Regions from separate parts of the Homo sapiens genome. Here all the other regions are linked to region 5. Evidence: promoter capture Hi-C in 16 types of primary human blood cells and fetal thymus (Javierre and others, 2016). All regions are on one chromosome and are shown on one strand. Each heading gives the region's core, a stretch centred on a gene start or on the middle of the fragment in contact. The rest is flanking DNA. Distances are from core to core; before and after follow the strand shown.

Evidence for each region. The method cuts DNA at HindIII sites, captures the fragments that hold promoters and counts their contacts. A CHiCAGO score of 5 or more calls a contact.
Region 1: a fragment that was not itself captured here is called in contact with the fragment with the promoter of MMP20 in region 5 in 2 of 17 cell types (M1 macrophages and M0 macrophages); the score reaches 8.1 in M1 macrophages.
Region 2: a contact is called between a fragment that was not itself captured here and the fragment with the promoter of MMP20 in region 5, in 5 of 17 cell types (M1 macrophages, M0 macrophages, M2 macrophages and 2 more). The highest score is 13.2, in M1 macrophages.
Region 3: a contact is called between a fragment that was not itself captured here and the fragment with the promoter of MMP20 in region 5, in 6 of 17 cell types (M1 macrophages, M0 macrophages, naive B cells and 3 more). The highest score is 16.1, in M1 macrophages.
Region 4: a contact is called between a fragment that was not itself captured here and the fragment with the promoter of MMP20 in region 5, in 1 of 17 cell types (M1 macrophages). The highest score is 8.8, in M1 macrophages.

Annotation. Positions count from the first base shown.
Region 1 is chr11:102,459,664-102,462,363 of GRCh38, forward strand. It overlaps TMEM123-DT (TMEM123 divergent transcript), which reads left to right. Exons shown (of 2, transcript NR_135053.1): 2 at 1,785-2,375. Among named protein-coding and RNA genes, the nearest start is that of TMEM123-DT, 8.1 kb to the left of the region's middle. The HindIII fragment of the contact is 975 bases long and covers 775-1,749 here.
Region 2 is chr11:102,403,437-102,406,136 of GRCh38, forward strand. The region is part of intron 2 of TMEM123 (transmembrane protein 123); the gene reads right to left. Among named protein-coding and RNA genes, the nearest start is that of TMEM123, 48 kb to the right of the region's middle. The HindIII fragment of the contact is 2,640 bases long and covers 76-2,700 here.
Region 3 is chr11:102,380,324-102,383,023 of GRCh38, forward strand. No RefSeq gene overlaps it. Among named protein-coding and RNA genes, the nearest start is that of BIRC2, 34 kb to the left of the region's middle. The HindIII fragment of the contact is 6,214 bases long and covers 1-2,700 here.
Region 4 is chr11:102,479,771-102,482,470 of GRCh38, forward strand. The region is part of intron 1 of LOC124902740 (a long non-coding RNA gene); the gene reads left to right. All of the region lies in intron 1 of LOC102723838 (a long non-coding RNA gene), which reads left to right. Among named protein-coding and RNA genes, the nearest start is that of TMEM123-DT, 28 kb to the left of the region's middle. The HindIII fragment of the contact is 6,416 bases long and covers 1-2,700 here.
Region 5 is chr11:102,623,916-102,626,615 of GRCh38, forward strand. It overlaps MMP20 (matrix metallopeptidase 20), which reads right to left and starts at 1,417. Exons shown (of 10, transcript NM_004771.4): 1 at 1,279-1,417. The coding sequence starts at 1,404. The HindIII fragment of the contact is 723 bases long and covers 884-1,606 here.

The DNA.
Region 1 (2,700 bases), core at 12-2,511, 160 kb before region 5:
CCTGAAGCTCAGTGAATAAGAACAGAGAGGTACAAGGGAAGATCTGGGCCTTTTCAGATGAGGAATTTAGATTTTATTTTAAATATGATGTATGGAAAGAACAAGAACAACAAAACAAAATGTGATGAGAAGCCATTTGAGAGTTGGCAAGTCATCTTGTGCTTTATATATTTTTAAAAACATCACACCAGCTTCTGTGGAGGAACAAGAGTAGAAACAGACCAGTTATGAGGCTATTGTTGGGGGCTTGAACTAGGGTAGAAGTGGTGACAATGGAAGAAGTGAATGGATTTAGGATGTGGATTGAGAGTAGAGTCAATTGGATATGATGGCTGAGGGAAAGAGAAATTAAGCCTCTTAGGTTTGTGGCTTGAGCAACTGGGTGAGTGGTAGCTTCACATCCCATATCCTGGAATACTAACCCACACTTTTTGAATTCTGTCCTACTGTCCTTCTGTCATTTCTGAATCTCTTATAGCAACCTTCATCAGGAACGCATACAGAGTTAGCCAAATTGAATACAATATTTCAGTGATCATCTGTTGGTATCTACATGGGTCAAGAGGGAAGTAAGCGCTATTGGATGATCCCTAAGTTTGCTCTCACCCAGGAATACTGCATTTTGAGTATTACTTGTGTTAGCAGTGGTGAATCCGTATGGGTCTGCGGCAGCCTCAACTCTTGCCTCCTCAGAAGAAAGAATTTGACCGAGGGGCATAAGACAGAGTGAGAGAATGAGGCAAATTTTGGAGCAGGAGTGAAAGTTTATTCAAAAGCTTTAGAGCAGGAATGAGAGAAAATAAAGTACACTTGGAAGACGGCCAAGTGGGCAACTTGAGAGATCAAGTGTACTGTTTGACCATTGATTTGGAGTTTTATATGTTGGCATTCTTTTGGGGTCTGCATTACTTCTCCCTTTTTTCTTCCCTTGTGGGGGTTGTCTGCCTGTGCGGTGGCCTACTGGCTTTTGAGGGGGGCCGCATGTGCACTGTGTTTACTGGAGTTGTATGCACGCTCACTTGTGGCATTTTTCCCTTACCAGTCTAGTGGTCATATACCAGGTATACTTTGCCTTTTGCCTCCTTTTTTTTTTTTTTTTTTTTTTAATGCGGAGTCTCGCTCTGTCACCCAGGCTGGAGTGCAGTGGCGCAATCTTTGCTCACTGCAACCTCCGCCTCCCAGGTTCAAGCAATTCTCCTGCCTCAGCCTCCTGAGTAGCTGGGACTGCAGGCCCGCCACCATGCCCAGCTAATTTTTATATTTTTAGTAGAGACTGGTTTTCACCATGTTGACCAGGATGGTCTTGATCTCTTGACCTCATGATCTGCCCACCTCGGCCTCCCAAAGTGCTGGGATTACAGGTGTGAGCCACCACGCCTGGCCTGAAACCTCTTATTTCTATGAGAGACAAAAGGATGTACTGTGTGATGTCTCATTACACCCATCGTTGTACCGATGAGAAACCTCAGCAAAATCCCAGAGGTAAGTGTTGACAGTTTCAAAGGTCAGAAGGCCCATGACCTTGCATGTAAAATCAAAAGGTCAGAACTATTATGTTGTCAGGGTGACACCCTAAAGAGGGGAGGATGGGTAGGCAGTGTTCTCCCTCCTCAAAGAAAATTTTGTCATTTTACCCTTATAATTGCCACATATTTTTTCCAGATACCTTTCATGTAGCCCACCCCCAATAAGTAAATATATTAGAATTTCACTGTGTAATGAGAATAAAAGAAAGGACTTTAGATGATAAGCTTTTGTGATCTTCTCCTCTCTCCTCCCTTCAGCCCTGACTCCAGTGTCTCCAGCTGAGAGGCTGAGCTTGCCAGCTCCATTTCTGACTGCTCATGGAGCAGAATCAGTGACCAAGGAGAAAAGGGCTGAGTGAAGAAACAAGTGTGAGTGCCAAGATGATGCCAAGGGCTGTGATTTCCTGGTGGGAAGAAAGAAGGAATAGAAGCCAAAGGAAGGGGGATGAAAAGCAAAACCAAGAATCACAAGGAATCAAGTTCGGAGAGAATTTTGGCAGAGATTTTGAGAGGGGGGCTTTAAGTCAGCCATGGACATACTGAAGCAAGAGGAATGAAGGGAAAAAAGAAAAGGGGGGAAAAAAAGAAGAAGAATGGGGCCAAGGAGGATTTAAGACTACCATTATAGGTTACAAGTTGAATTCTTTTTAATATTCTTCAAGCAATGACAGTAAAGATTCAAATAACTTTTAAATTACCTTTGATTTCTAAACCAAGTTTCTTGGAATGTGAAAGTCGCCAAGACTGGGCCCTGCAGGGCCTGGGTTGGGCTACTACTGCCTATGGAGATTCTGAGGGTATTAACCTTAATAATGGCATGAAATCAATAAAAATCATCCAAAAGCTTTTTTCTGAGCATCTATTGTATGTGCAGCATTGTATAAGGCATGGAAGAAAAAGCAAAATAGTATAATGTGTGGCCATGTCCCTGCAGGTGTTATATTTAAGTAAATGACCCATTTCCACGTGGGCAAGTAAGTAATAGCACTCCACCAAAACTGTCACCAGACTGTGAGGGCTGTAAGTTGGTAGGAAGAAGTACTAACTAAATGTAGAACTTAATATCTATTTTTCCTTATTTGATTTTTAAACTTCACCCCAAAACGTAATAATTGCCGTAAGCTTTAAGATTTTATAATTCCAATAATATATACCAAACAAAAATACCATTCCT
Region 2 (2,700 bases), core at 146-2,645, 220 kb before region 5:
TTCTTTTTAACACGACAATTTAACTAACGTTTACAACTATAGGTACCTATTAGGATACAATGTCTAGGGAATGAAAGCTTTTAATATGTCTTTGTCCATTTAATATGATGTAATATATTTCTGTATTCATTTCCTGTCTCATAGTTTATTTTCAGGTTTTTTGGTTTCCTATGTTGCCTACTGCTATGGTTTGGATTTGGTTTGTTTGTCCCTATCAAAACTCATATTGAAATTTGATCTCCAATGTGGCGGTCTTGGGAGGTGGGGCCTAGTGGGAGTTGTCTGGATCATGGGGGCAGATCCCTCATAAATGGCTTGATGCCCTTCACGTGGTAGTGAGTGAGTTCTCATTCTGGCAAAACTGGATCAGTTCCTGTGGAAATGAGTTCCCATGAAAGGGGGTTGTTATAAAGCCAGGATGCTCCTCGGGTTTTCTATCTTTGCAGTTACCCACTTCCCCTTTGACCTTCTCGGCCATGTTGTGGCACAGCTTTATAAAAGCCCTCCCCAGAAACCAGGGCTTGCAGAACTTTCCCAGCCTGCAGAACCTTGAGCTAAATAAACATTTTCTTTATCAATTACCTAGTCTCAGGTATTCCTTTATAGCAACACAAAATGTACTAAGACACCTTTATACTCCCATTTTATTATATATGTCCACATACTTAAGGTACACAGAATTAACCACTGGACCTGCTTTCTCCTTTCCCCCAGTGAGAGCAGTACCAATGCCTTAGGTTCCTTGCCCCGCCACTGTTGTCAAGTACCAAAAGTGATACTTCATATATTATCCTATCTTCCACAACTATTTTGGCCTTATTCTTGAAAGACAGACAGATTGATATTTATTTATTTATTTAACTTAGAGACAAAGTCTTACTCTGTCACCCAGGCTGGAGTGCAGTGGCATGATCTCGGCTCAGGGCAACCTCCGCCTTCTGGGTTCAAGCGATTCTCGTGCCTCAGCCTACTCAGTAGCTGGGATTACAGGCACATGCCACGACGCCTGGCTAATTTTTGTATTTTTAGTAGAGACAGCGCTTCACCATGTTGGCCAGGCTCGTTTCAAACTCCTGACATCAGGTGATCCGCCCACCTCAGCCTCTCAAAGTGCTAGTACTACAGGTGTGAGCCCCTGCACCTGGCCCCTATATGTATTTATTATTGTTATTACTATTTTTGAAACAGTCTTGCTCTGTCCCCCAGGCTGGAGGGCCGGTGCCTGCGATCTCGGCTCACTGTAACCTCTGCCTCCCAGGTTCAAGCAATTCTCCTGCCTCAGCCTCCTTAGTAGCTGGGATTACAGGCATGCACCACCAAGCCCACCTAATTTTTGTACTTTTAGTAGAGACGGGGTTTTGCCATGTTGGCCTGGCTGGTCTTGAACTCCTGACCTCAGGTGATCTGCCTGCCTTGGCCTCCCAAAGTGCTGGGATTACAGGCTAAGCCACCATGCTCGGCCCCAGCTATATTTATTTTTGACTTAACTGTCAAAACAAGTTGGTTTTAATAGTGCTGCTTACTTGCATATCGGGTTTTACTACTGGAATTTCTACTACTTTCTTCAACTTTGGGTCTCTGTGATCTCTTCTACTGAGTATGACCTATTTTCTTTTTTCTTTTTTTTTTTGAGACAGAGTCTTGCTCTGTTGCCCAGGCTGGAGTGCAGTGGCGTGATCTCAGCTCATTGCAAGCTCCGCCTCCCAGGTTCACGCCATTCTCCTGCCTCAGCCTCCTGAGTAGCTGGGACTACAGGCGCCCACCACCACGCCTGGCTAATTTTTGTATTTTTATTAGAGACGGGGTTTCACCTTGTTAGCCAGGATGGTCTCGATCTGATCTCCTGACCTTGTGATCTGCCCGCCTCAGCCTCCCAAAGTGCTGGGATTACAGGTGTGAGCCACCGTGCCCGGCCTGATCTATTTTCTTAATAAGGCCAAAGGAATTAACGCTTTTATACTACATAGGCAAATAAATAATAAATATCCAAGTAGGTAATACAAATGCACTAAGTTCAAATGAACTTGAACTAATCTTTTCTTATTCAAGTCTGAATGTTCTATAGAGATATAAGTAATAGAATTTAACATTAAAATAATCACCTTTTATTTAAAAATGCTGAATGGATTCTATTGCAATGAAATTAAATACAGCAAAGAACCAACGTTTATATCCTATCTTTAGAATAGAATGATCCCGCAGAATAAAACAATGAACACAATGCTGCTTTCGGATTCAACACACACACACACCCCTCCCCCTGCCCTCTGGTATAATAAAACATTCTTCAAAGATACTGTACAAAGTCACATGGGCCAAAATAGGAAGCTATAATAGGTTAGTTCTCCGCTAAGTCAATCCAAATGTGCTAAAGAAACAAAAAATTTTGTCAATTTCTATGTCAATTTCTTTGTCGATTTCTATGAATTGACAAAACAGGCAAAAGGAAATTTTGCATTAAACTGTGTTTCCTGATGCTTTTAAGCATAAATGAAATGCAAGGATGCTCTCCAAATTCACATTGGATGACCCAATCTTCTTCTGTAATAAGTAAATAGTCACTTGTTTTCCTCTGCAAATGATACCATCCCAACTCTGGTCTTCTTCCCTCTCCCTTAACTGTTGAAATGCTGACTGGCACCTCTAGGAGTGGCACAGTTAACACCTGCAAAGAGATGCAGAATGGACCATCCCTGTGGG
Region 3 (2,700 bases), core at 26-2,525, 240 kb before region 5:
AACTTCTCAAATGGACCTGGATTTGAGATTAGGGTTTTAGTCTCTTATCTTTTTTGCCCTCTTAATGATGATAATCAGTGTCCTAGCAGGTGCTCATTATGTTGAGCAGACAGATGAATGTCAGATGCTTTGTTAGGTTTTTTATTGCCTTCCATAATCCTTAAAACTGTAGGAAACATGTTATCTCTTTTTTATAATACAAATGTGGAAATTGAGGCCCAGTGAAACCATGTAATTTGCTAGAGATAACAAGTGGTAGAGTGTGAATTGTATACAGTCCAGGTGGAAGTGGCTCCAGAACATTTACATTTTTTTTTTTAAATCTCTTGCTAAACCATACTTCAGTTTTTGTTTGTTTGTTTTTGAGATGGAGTCTCATTCTTGTTGCCCAGGCTGGAGTGCAATGATACAATCTCACCTCACTGCAACCTCCGCCTCCTGGGTACAAGTGATTCTCCTGCCTCAGCCTCCTGAGTAGCTGGGATTACAGGCACCCGTCACCACGCCTGGCTAATATTTTTAGTAGAGACGGGGTTTCACCATGTTGGCCAGACTGGTCTCAAACCCCTGACCTCAGGTGATCCACCCACCTCTGCCTCCCAAAGTGCTGGGATTACAGGTGTGAGCCACCACATCCAGCCCATACTTTAGTTTACTACATTCTTAACTTGTGTTTGGATCTCTTTCTTCCCTGTCTTAACCTAAATGGGAGGAATTGTATGATTATTAGTTAGGCTTCTCCTTTGTTTCCCACATCTTTTCTTAAAAGAGCTCAAGTACCAGAGCTGAATAGTTTGCTCTTCTCAACACTAGCAACCTAAGAGACTCATTGCTTGTTGACTGCCATTCCATAAGTCAAAGGACAACGAATGGTCAGCTTTAAAGACACACCTAAATTTTTTCTAGAGGTGTAACATTTCAATGAGTATCCCCTACTATATGTAAAAGAAACCTATCAGTAGATAGTAGCAGTTCTTTCAACCCTTTTAGGTGCTCTGAAAAAATTAAAAGTAGAACTGAGATGCTGGCGGGACACAGTGGCTCACGCCTGTAATCCCAACACTTCGAGAGGTCGAGGCAGGCTGATCACTTGAGGTCAGGAGTTCAAGACCAGCCTGGCCAATGTGGTGAAACCCCATCTCTACTAAAAATACAAAAATTAGCTGGGCGTGGTGGCGGGCGCCTGTAATCCCAGCTACTCCGGAGGCTGAAGCAGGAGAATTGTTTGAACGTGGGAGGCAACAACAAAACAGAAGTAAGATGCTATTTGCTATTTTCACTGTGCTGACATTTGCAGTGATTGGTGCAGACACAATGGTGGTCAGTGGACCAGCATTTAAGAACCACTGGTGTGTGGTAAAACCATTAGACTGATTAAAAAAACAAAAAATGAATCTAAGAAGCATTGTATTAAGGGAGAATACTTAGTCTTATCTGTTAGGTTTTCTTCAACATAGAAGGAACTCTTTTTTCCCTTGCGCTTATCGTCTTGGTGCTTTTGGGAGAGAAGCATGGATATGCCCAGTAGCTCAATCCCTTCTTTCTTCTTTCTCTTTGGGAGGCAGCTTGTCTGAAGAGAGCATACTCTGTCCTTCTGTGATGTTGGCGTCACAGGGGCCAGTGACTGGTAAAGTTTGTTTCCTTCTAGCATTCATATTAGGAAATCTACACGAAAGCATCATCCTTCAGATCTTTTATCAATGATAAACATGATGTTTTCATTGTCACGTGATGACTCCTTTTATTGGTTCTAAACTTGCCTAAAAGGGATGTTATTTATTGAGCCCCACAAGTCCATAATAGATTCTTTTGCCTACTTGGTCCATTGGGATATGCGTGATTATTCAGGGGAAGAAGATTTAGATAGCTTAGTAGAAATGGAAAGACTATGGTAATAATTGATTATTGTGTTAGGTCCTGTTATCTTTCTGGTATGGTGTCCAGATAGGCTTTAACCATCGAGTCCTTGGAGCTTTTAAGCCTTAGCAGCTCTGATAATGAAAGGTAATAGGTAAAGAGCCCTGAATTTCAAATCCAAAGACTTTGCCTCTAAGTCTAATTCTGCCGTTTAATGAGGTCTTCGGCAAGCCCTTTACAACTGTTTCTGGTCCTCAGCTTTTCTGTGAGGGTGAATTTCTGTCCTGCTTATTCCTCACAGGGCTGTAGTAGGGTCTAATGTAGAGCTGCACATGACTTCTGTGTTCTTCATTAGTGGGCTCTGCTAAAGACGGTGTCATAGGTCTGATTCCCAAGTAGCAAGCATCCTGTTTCATATCAGACCTGGATAGACTGAGTCATAGCATTGTGTTCCAATCAGTTTTTTTTTTTTTGTTTTGTTTTGTTTTAAGGCAGGTAAATACTTTAGAATAGATATTTGTTGTAAAAGTTTCAAACAATCAGTATATAAGGTAAAATGTTTGAATCCCCTTTAATTTCTCCCCACTAGTACTTTCAGTCCCCTCCCTGGTAGTAATCACTGTTAAATTTGGTATGTATTCACTGTGTGGGGGTGTGTATATACACACATGCCTACATACATATGGTTATAGAAATGTTCTTAAGGTTGCTTTTTCACTCAGTAGTAGGTCTTGAATATCTTTATTTTTCCATGACAGCAAGCAAATACCGAATTATTTTTCTGTAAATATAGAAGTCATAATTTCAGCTTCAAAGCTACATGGACACTAAGATATTTTCTCT
Region 4 (2,700 bases), core at 119-2,618, 140 kb before region 5:
AATACCTTAATCTTGCCAGTAAAGAAATAAGGAACATTTGATTCAGACAGGAATAAAATCTATTGATTTGTACAAGATCTAAGAGCCCATAAACTCCTTTGTGATTTTTCACCACCCCTTAGTCCCTAATCCAGCTGACATTTCTACTTCAATTTCTGCTGATACAGCCTGATTTACAATGATTGACATCTGCTCAATTTTCTGTTCAATTCCATTGCGCCCTGACTCAAAATTTCTCTTTACATTCACATTTAGAGGGAGAAAATGAACATGAACTCATATAGGTCAGGGATACCATGAGTCCTTTTCAGTGTTTTCCCGAGTCCTTAAAGTCAGCTTAGACTCTGTGTCCTTTACCCAAGGCTCTACTCTTGTTCATTATTCCGATATGATCTTTTAGTTTGTTACTGAACTAAGCAACCCACTCTTCCAGACTCCCTCATTTTCCTAAAGGCACTAGCTCAACAGAGGCCATAAAGCCTTCCAACCTAAACTTCAGTGGGTGCAAATAACTGTTACTTATGTAGGATTGAATTGCTAGGTTGTCATATCTCAGAGCACTCAAAAGCTCGCCCCAAAATGCCTAGAGTCAGTTTTGTGCATTCCCCTCCCAAAAAAACATCTATGTAAATTTCTAGGAGCAGCTAGTTATTGCCACCAATATATTCCTAATTTTGTTGCCTTTGCTAAGCTCCTTTATACCCTCCTCCCAGATATTAATTCTGAGCCCATTTTCTTGGCCTGCAGATCCATAAATCTCCTCCGGAGCCTTAAAATTAACATCCACATCCCCTGCTCTCAGCTAACCTGATTTTGACAGACCTTTTCGCCCATCTCACCATGACACAATGGGATTGCTGCAGATATTTGGAACAATTTTTTTGCCTCTCTGATACACCCTGTAGCATATTTCTCATGTCAATTGGACCCCCATGCCGATGTGCAGTAGCCACAGCTACCACCCTAATAATTGACAAAGCCAGCATATTCTGATATTACACTCCTTCATTCATCCATATGTTCCCCATGCTGCCTGTTCTCTTACAAGTTCATAAGATACAGCACCTTTCTCCAGATGGCAGGCCACCTATGCACAGGCCCTGTTTACCAGCTCCTCCATCATGTTGCATTGTTGTAACACTTTAAATCCAGCTGCTCTACTGCCCCTGCCTGATGATGGAGAGCCTCACTCCATTCAATATGTTTGCCTTGCAGCTATAGAAAAGGTCTCAAAGCCACAAGAAGACCTCCTAGATACTCCTTTAGACAATCCAGACTTATTTCTATTTTGTAATGGCTTCTGTGGATGACATTTCCAGGAAACATAACTGTGAAGCCATAGTTTTCCCTTGTGAAACACTTCAGGCATCCTCTTTGTCCACTGTAAAGTCAGCCCAAGCTGCCGAATGTATAGATCTTGCTAGAGCTGGTGTAATGGCAAAAGGAAAAATTGCCACTATTTACCCTGACTCCAGATATGCTTTGGGTGTCTGCCACACTATTGGCAATCTGGAAGTCCAGCAGATTCTTAACTTCTGCTGATAATCCTATTTCCAATTAGCATATAATTGCTGCTCTATTACAGGCTGTTCACCTCCCTATTCAAATTGCTATTGCTCATTGTTCAGCTCACCCTAAGGAGACTGATAGTATATCTCTAGGGAACGAGAGGGTGGAGAAGGCCACTAAGAATGCAGCCCCAAAGAACCCTCCTATTCTTTTCCACCCTTTATTAACCTGCCTTTATTGCTTACTGGTGTTATTGATTACCAGAGAATGGGCACAGTGCGACAAACAAACAAACAAACAAACAAAAAACCCACAAATGAATACAAAAGAATGTCAGATAATTATCAGGTGTATTATACATGGGGCCAATGGAGTTCCTGTGGCCCCCCTTTTTTTAACTTCTTGGCTTGAAGCACTTATCTCCCTTCAGATGGGACATATGTACAGACAGAGGATAGTTAAGGAATGAAAAGATAATTGGTTTTGCCTTGGTATTTACAAAATTTCTAACTGAATTATTCTCAGTGCACTTCTAATAAATCCCATCAGATTTTTGGAGGAGACCAACGTGCCTCAGCAAGTCCTCTAAGACATTAGGCTTTAGGCTCTTCTTACTGTTTGATTGTTGTCTGTATGTTTAGTGGATGGATTGAACGCTATCTGACTAGATGTGCTGACACCATGACAGTGGTAAAGAAATTAATAACAGGTCAGGCGTGGTGGCTCACGCCTGTAATCCCAGCACTTTGGGAGGCTGAGGCAGGTGGATGATTTGGGGTCAGGAGTTTGATACCAGCCTGGCCAACATTGTAGAACCCCATCTGTACAAAAAATACAAAAATTACCCTGGTCTGGTGGCGCATGCCTTTAATCCCAACACTATGGGAGGCTGAGGCAGGTGGATCATCTGGGTCAGGAGTTCGATACCAGCCTGGCCAACATGGCAGAACCCCATCTTCACAAAAAATACAAAAATTTGCCTGGTGTGGTGGTGCATGCCTGTAGTCCTAGCTTCTTGGGAGGGTGAGGCAGGAAACTTGAGCCTGGGAGATGGAGGTTGCAGTGAGCTGAGATCGTGCCATTGCATTCCAGCCTGGGAGACAGAGCAAGACTCTGTCTCAAAAATAAATTAATCAATTAATAAATAATAAATAACAGATCATTCTTCATTTGGATGTTCTATTATAGATT
Region 5 (2,700 bases), core at 167-2,666:
AATACAATTGAATAAGGATCCCAGTATCCTGAGTTATTTTGAATTTAGTTCATCTAAAAGTGGGCTAAAGTCAAAAGAAGTTCAGTTCAACATGGTTGTGCTGGGCATCAGCTGTGCTGTTCATCTGCGGGGCTGATATTTAAGTGTTTAATGACTGGTATGGCCGGGGAACTGACCAGTTAATAAGGATGAGTGGCAGAAACAATCGGTAGGGACATGCCATTGCACATGGGTGCAAATCAGCTCTACGATGCAGACAGCCAAGCGGTACACAGGTGCAGCCTGGCAGTCAGGAAAGCAGCCCTGAGGCGGAGCTGGTGATCACAGATGTGCTGTAATGTTGGCAGACTCTTGAAAGGGAGGCCTGTGTGCAAAAGCATTTCCTCTATATATCTTTCACTAATGTTGGAAATTCCATCCGTAGACATCCATTTCTTTAGGTTAAGGATGCCACCCTTCTTTTAAAAACAAAACACGCTTGGAAGCATATATATATATATATATATATATATATATATATATATATATATATGTAGAAATCATTTTGAGTCAAGCAGTCTTTGTGAAATATTTGAATATGGATCATTTCTATCAGACCCTTTCCAGCAGTCATAGAGGAGAGATCTCAAAAGAGGAAAATACACAAAGTTTAAGTACATAAACGTTGTACTTTGTACTTACTACATAAACTTTGTTATGTACTTTGTACATAAACTTTTACTTCATTGGGGAATATGCTTTAGGGAGAAAAGGCCTTCAAATGAGAAGTGGGTTGGCACCCAGGAAGAACTTAGTCCACTTTAAATTTTGATCAGGGTTACCTTGAATATAAGAGCCATTTAAAAAGTGGAAACACAGGAAATCTCCTTGTTGTGACCGCTAAAGCTTAGCACTAAATTCACAACCTGCCTCTAGCGTGTGGATTATGCCTCGGTTTTTATTTTTCTGCTTCTATTTTTCCTCCTACATCATTCCCGGGAAGTACTTGTTTGCTCCTTTTATATTGCATGGTTTTCACAAGCCACCTGGAATTCTTTATGAAGCAAGATAGCTAGGTAGATATATCCTCATGTATTTATTCAGTCATGTAACATGGTACACCTAATATGCACCAGACACCAATCTAGGTGGACAGAAGATAGCATCAGTTAGACTTCAATGGACTTATATAAAATGATTTTAAAAGAACAATAGAATTTTTTTCTTATTTTCTCACTATGCCCTTTTAGGTTTTCTAGGGCAGAGGAGCAAGAAGGAATTGGGCAAAAATTCACAAACCTGTGCGAGGCGGTAGTTGTTCCTCCAGGTCCTGGGGGAGGCTGCAACTAGGGAGGGGGCTGCAGTGGAAAACTTCAAAGCCATGATGAGGAAGACAGCAAGGCCAGATGCAGGGAGCACCTTCATCCCCTCACAGTAGCTTGGTAATTATATCAGCCTGGGGGATGGCAGACAGTGCACGTTTGCACTTCGACCTTGAGCTCCTTTTATAGAGTCAAACAGGTCTGGACCCTCCGAGCAAGGATGATTCATGTCTCAAACAGTAATTATACAGCTCATTTCTCTCCCTGATGATGGGGTAACACAACTGTACACAGGAATCAGGGAAAGCTTCATATTTTTTTTGTTATTTACCAAGTGGCAAAAGGAGAAAAACAGTCACTTTTAATGAAGTTGGTCAGCTAGTTACAAAAATTGAAGTAAACTTGATTGATTTGAACCCAACTCAACTGAAACATTTGATTAGTCTTCATTTGGGGGCCTTTTTCCATTCTGATTACAGAAAAGTTAGATGATTACAGTATAATTGAATTTGTCCTCCAAGTAATCCCAAACTCCCCATGCATTCAACCCAATCGCCTGTATCTCCTGCATTCACTTCAAAATTTCTTAGTAGCAACTGCTGTTCATAATGATGGCTCTGAGACACATAAGATCCTGAATCATCAAGGCAAGATTACATTATACTGTGCTGACTTAGGGTGGAAAGTGAACTGGTAACTGTTAGAAAGCTTTTGGATGAATTAAGGCAAGAGTTACGTCTTCGTTAACCAAAACAATAGCCAGAACTCCCCAATCTCTGTGTACTCTGGTTAATTGGAGTCATATTGTTTTTCCTGGGTCTGATTAAGATGGATTTGGATCCAGAGATGATACGGTGAAATGGTGTCATATGGTGGGAAAAGCACTTAGAGTCAGACAAAGCAAGACTAAATATTTAAAAAGATATTTCCTAGCTGTGTGATGTTGGGTATGTCATTTAATCTCTGAATATCAAGTTTTTTTTAATCTACAAAAGACTGACAATACTACTACTATGTATAAACTTTTCAGTGTTATGGAGTAACACATATAGCATGACATCTGCAAGCACCACTTGGCATCCACTAGATGTGGATTCAAATCCTAATTTTGATTTTAGACTAAATTCAAGGTTATTCCTATAGTGAATACAGTGAATTCCTATAGTCTTTCTCACTCTGTTGCATTTTGATATGCTTTCTTTGCATGGAAGAGAAGATGGTGGAGTTACAGCCAATGTTTGGTATCTAGTGTACAACCCCAGGCACTGAACAAGAGTTTGTCACACATTAATATGGTTTGGCTCTGTGTCCCTAACCAAATCTCATCTCGAATTGTAATCCCCATGTGTTGAGGGAGGGAGGGGATTGGATCATGGGGGTGGTTCCGTCATGCTGTTCT